Regions from separate parts of the Homo sapiens genome. Here region 2 is linked to region 1. The links are contacts of gene promoters, found by promoter capture Hi-C in blood cells and fetal thymus (Javierre and others, 2016). All regions are on one chromosome and are shown on one strand. Each heading gives the region's core, a stretch centred on a gene start or on the middle of the fragment in contact. The rest is flanking DNA. Distances are from core to core; before and after follow the strand shown.

Region 1 (2,717 bases), core at 123-2,622:
TGCACAGAGATGCCAAGACTAAAGGTCAAAGAGAGAGAGACACAGAGAAACAGACAGGCAGAGAGACATGACCGACAACAGAGAGACTGAGTTGGGAGTAGAGAGAGTAGGAGCCAGGCAAAGACCCAAAGAGAGAGGGAGAAAATACCACAAGATGCATAGAAGGAAGTGCAAAGAAAGGAGAAAAGAGAGACAGAGATATACTCACAGCAAGGTGCAGAGACATGGAGACCCTATAAGAGATGGAAATGGAGAGCCACAGAGGGGGAACTGCGGGCACTAAGAGAGACATGGAGAGAACTAGAAAGATAGAGACGTGAACACAGACACAGAGACCCAGAGCCAAAAAGAGACAGAAATGGGGTCATAGGTGGACAGAAATGCACAGAGAGACTGTGAGCCCCCACAGACACAAACGCTGAGAGGGGCAGACATGCAGAGACACCCACAGAAATGCAGAGACAAAACCACCCGGAGACACATGCCGAGAAACACACTGAGGGGCTCAGAAAGCGACAGATGCAGAGAGAGCCCAAGACAGACCCAGCAAGGGGCCCCGAGAAATGCACAGAAACACAAAGACCGAGACCACCAGAGACAGAGGTACGGAGAGGCGGGGAGGGTGAGGAAGCCTGCTCTCCAGGGCTGGCTTGAACCTAGAACTCAAGGTCATGGCTTGGCTGGGAAGCGGGAGGGGGATACCAAAAAAGATCAGCGTTAGATGGAGGTGGGGAGGGAGGGTAGGTTTCACCCTAATTGACACCCCACCCTCCCCCTCCCCCTCCCCACACCTGCTTCCCGGCTTTAGTGCCTGTTGTCACCAGGATGGAATCCTGGCGGCAGACAAAGGGGTGGGGGTGGGAGGAGGAGACAAAAAGATGGACAGAGACAGAGGAGGAGACTAAGAAGTAGAGACAGACACACAGAGACACACAGATGGAGAGCCACAGAGACAACAGAAATGGGGGTCCAGAAAGAGACCTAGATAGAAAGAGGGAACAGAGAGAAGAAAACAGGAAACATTCCTTATAGCCCATGTGTCATTAGTAGGTCCTCCAAGGACCTACTGTGTGCCGGGCATGGGGACGTCAAAGCACAGGGAGCTATAAGGGAGGTAGTTGGAGCACCACGGGAGCCTGGGGTGTGGGGTGGGAGCAGGGGCGGGGCTCCTGGGCCATGCAGATGGGGTTGGCATGGGGTTGGGGAGGGGCCCACGGAGGCTTCTGGACTCTGAGTGTGGAGCCAGGGGCAGCAGGGCTGTCTCTGAACTCCCAGGCTTGTGTTTGAGCAAAGGAATTCTCTCCCCCTCCCTCTCCCCTCGGGGCGGGCCCGAGCCTCCAGCTATAAACTCCCCGGAGCTTCAGTGCCCTCAGCAAGGCTCAGCCTCAAGATTCACAGCATCTCAGACACAGCCTAGGTAAGGGGCTCTGCGGAGCCCTGTGGTCTTCAAAAACCATGTCCTTGGGGGAGGGGGCAGGAGGCAGGTGGGGAAGATGTCGGGTGTGGAGAAATGGTGCAGAGGTAGGTGGGGCATACAACTGGAGGTCTGGGAACTTGAGAGGCTCAGACTTTAGGGGGACTCAGGATAGAGGGGAAAATACTAGGATTTGTGGGTTACACAAATCCTAACCCGGGGCTGCCAGGACTTGGATGTCCCAGAATAAAACCTCCTAGGATCTTGGGGTTCTGGGAATCTGGGGGAAATCTCAGCAGTCAGGGATATCTGGACTTGGAGGTCAAACAATCTGGGTGTCAGGATTTGGGGCCTCAGACTCTGAGGGTATCAGGAATTGGGGGGGTCTCAGAAGAAATTGGGGTTTTGGTAGTGGAGGGCTCGGAATCTGAGACATTATGATAGAAAGCATGAAAACTTAGAGTGCCATTATCTGGGGTATCATGAACTGGGCCTCCGAGTTTGGGTATCAAGATTTTGGGGGTCTCATATTCTTGAGGTTTCAGATTTTAGGAGGTCTCAAGACCTGGGGGTGGTCTTAGGATGTCCCGGCCCATATCTGGACTATCAAGAACTGGGATTTCAGAATCCAGAGCTGTGAGGACTTGCTGGCCTCAGAAACACGGGCATCATAAATCGGGGTCTCAGAATCTGTGGGTATTGGGATTTGGGGCTAGGCACCCTGTGGCCTAGGGTGTCTCAAAGACTTTGAGGTCTAAGAATGTAGGGGTCAGGGTGAGGTCTACGGACAGAAGGTGCCCTTTATGCCCCTGCCCCCTACGTGATGTATGGGAAGGTGAAAGGGGAGACAGGTGGGGAGGAAACCAGCCAGTGGGGTGGGGCGAGTGGGAGAGGGGATGCGGGTGACTAATTCTCCCAGAAGCCCCCCTTCCTCAAATCCCTTCTTAGGAAATGTCCTCGGTTTCACCATCTATGACATCCCCCCAAAATAGCTCCTGGGGGTGGGGCAGCTATTGTCTTCAGGCCACTGTCCCTTCTCAAATGCCTCTTCCTAATCCCAACTGGATCAGGTTCCCATGGACTTGTCATAAGACAAAAGAGGACAGCTGTGCTGAGGGGGCAGGGTCTGCAGCCTCCTGGCTGTGCCAGGACCACACCTACCAAGGTCTGTCCTCATGCATGCTTTAGGACAGCCGGCCCCCTCCCTCAGACCCAAGAGTCCAGACCTGAGCCCTCCTCCCTCAGACGCAGGAGTACAGGCCCCCAGCCCGCTCCTCCCTCAGACTCAGGAGTCTAGACTCCC
Region 2 (2,700 bases), core at 1-2,500, 270 kb after region 1:
AGAAACAACTAGAATGGGGATTAAAATAAGAATGGTGCTTCAGGCTATTCTTCAATTTCTTTATCCTAGAGCTCCCAAGAGGGTCTAAAGGGGCTGGGAGAGATTTACAGGACACTTACCTTCCTGTGCCTGAATCCTCTGGCCCAGACAGAGCACTGGAAGAGAGAGATTTATGAAAAATCAAGCTTCCATTTCCAACCTTTACGACAAATCACCCTCTGTAATGACAGACCAGAAAAAGACCAGTACCAGATGGATTCACAGCTCAATCCCACCAGATATATAAAGAAGAGCTGGCATTTTTTTTTTTTTTTGAGACAGAGTCTCGCTGTGTCGCCCAAGCTGGAGTGCAGTGGCATGATCTTGGCTCACTGCAAGCTCTGCCTCCCAGGTTCATGCCATTCTCCTGCCTCAGCCGCACGAGTAGCTGGGACTACAGGCGCCCGCCACCACGCCTGGCTAATTTTTTTGTATTTTTAGTAGAGACAGGGTTTCACCATGTTGGCCAGGATGGTTTTGATCTCCTGACCTTGTGATCCGCCTGCCTTGGCCTCCCAAAGTGCTGGGATTGCAGGTGTGAGCCACTGCGCCCGGCCAAGAAGAGCTAGTATTATTCCTACTGAAACTATTGAAAAAAATCCTGGAGGAGGGACTCCTCCCCAACTCATTCTATGAGGCCAACATTATCCTGATAACAAAATGTGGCAGAGATACAACAAAAACAGAAAACTTCTGGATAATATCTTTGTTGAACATAAATGCAAAAATCTTCAACAAAATACTAGTAACCATATTTCTATATGGGGTTCTATCATATGTTTTCCTTCCACAACAATCACAGTTTTGAGGTTCATTCTTTATTTTTACCTTTCAGATTCCAGCCTCTAAGTCTCTCCTTGATAAGAACCTTGGGACCATCATGAATCCCAGATAACACACTATAGGTTTAATACAAATATTAAACCTTGAGCCCCACAAGCTAGCTTGGGCTTGGGTAGAGACAAAGTTATAGATACATTGACAAAGACGGCCTTTCCACTAAGGAGATCAGAATCTCCTTGGCAGCCACTAAAATCTCCTAGTCACACTGTTAAGAGACACCCTGATTATTTTGGGATTTCTCTATCTTCCCCTCTAACCCACTTTTACTCTGAAACTCACCAAGACACAGGAGGGTGGTCTGTTTGGGGTCCATCGTGCTGACACGGCCTCAGCCCCGTTGCTCTCCTTTCAATGCACATTAGCAGGATGACAGATATTCTTACGACAATAAGCTCCGCAGGAAGTATGAGGACAGAGCCCCTCGTCAGGGAATTTCCACATCTATTGCCTCACAACAAAGTGGAACAGTTCGTTGCCGAATAACTTAGTTCCAGGTTGCTCTTGGGTGGAGCCCAAGAGAAGACATATATATGTATATTTTTTTAAATAGAGATGGGGTCTTTCTATGTTGGCCAGGGTAGTCTCTAACTTCTGGCATCAAGAAATCCTCCTGCCTAAGACCTATATTTCTATTTATGTTTCAGATGAGAAACGAATGAGAAGTGAATTTTCATTAAGCCAGTGTCTAATGGTGTTCAAATTCATCTTTGAACCAGATGCTACATCCAAATAGACGGGCTTGGGACAGAATATAAGGTGGTGGATACCATACAGGCAGACATTGCCTTCACTGGGCCATTAGTCAAAAGCTCTGTGGCTTTGTCTGTTCTGAACCTATGTTTCATCTCTGAGATTCATGGTCTGAGTATATTTACTTGGACTTGACCAGGCATGCAGTATACCCTTATCCTGGAGATGATCTCAATGCCAGAGTGTGGAGGCATTTTCTCTGGCACTATTTGTCATCTCTAAAGAAAGAATCTACTATTTTATTATACTTTTTTGTTTATTTGTATAAATTTAAGGAGCGCAAGTGAAATTTTATTACGTGGATATTTTGTGTAGTGGTGAAGTCTGGGCTTTTAATATAATTATCCTCAAATAATGTACATTGTTGCTCATTGAGTATTTTTTTAACTTTTATTTTAGGTTCAAGGGTACATGGGAAGGTTTGTTATACAGGTAAACTTGTGTCATGGGGGTTTGTTGTACAGATTATTTCATCACCTAGGTAATAAGCTTGGTACCTAATAGTTACTTTGCCTGCTCCTTTCCCGCCTCCCACCCTCCACCCTAAAGGAGACCCCATTGTCTGTTTTTCCCTTTTTTGTGTTCATGAGTTCTATTATTTAGCTTCCACTTATAAGTGAGAACCTGCTGTATTTGGTGTTCTGTTCTTGTATAGTTTGCTAAGGATAATGGCCTCCAGCTCCATCCATGTTTCCACAAAACATATGAACTCATTCTTTTTTTATGGCTTCAAATTAATTTTATTTTTATCTTATTATTTATGTTATTTTGATTGTAGACTCCTGGCTATCACGAATTCTTCAGGTATGGAGAGTGAAATATTCCTAATTAAACCTTCTACTATTTTATTTTATTTTATTTATTCTTTTTTTTTTTTTGAGACGGAGTCTTGCTCTGTCGCCCAGGCTGGAGTGCAGTGGCGTGATCTCAGCTCACTGCAAGCTCCACTTCCTGGGTTCATGCTATTCTCCTGCCTCAGCCTCCCGAGTAGCTGGGACTACAGGCATCCGCCACCACGCCCGGCTAATTTTTTTTGTATTTTCAGTAGAAACGGGGTTTCACCGTGTT

The links. The method cuts DNA at HindIII sites, captures the fragments that hold promoters and counts their contacts. A CHiCAGO score of 5 or more calls a contact.
Region 2: a contact is called between the fragment with the promoter of FCAR here and the fragment with the promoter of TNNT1 in region 1, in 2 of 17 cell types (M2 macrophages and M0 macrophages). The highest score is 12.6, in M2 macrophages.

What each region holds. Positions count from the first base shown.
Region 1 is chr19:55,147,861-55,150,577 of GRCh38, reverse strand. TNNT1 (troponin T1, slow skeletal type) reads left to right here and starts at 1,372. Exons shown (of 14, transcript NM_003283.6): 1 at 1,372-1,417. The HindIII fragment of the contact is 19,232 bases long and covers 1-2,717 here.
Region 2 is chr19:54,872,785-54,875,484 of GRCh38, reverse strand. FCAR (Fc alpha receptor) reads right to left here and starts at 1,250. Exons shown (of 5, transcript NM_002000.4): 1 at 1,162-1,250; 2 at 120-155. The coding sequence starts at 1,195. The HindIII fragment of the contact is 1,936 bases long and covers 188-2,123 here.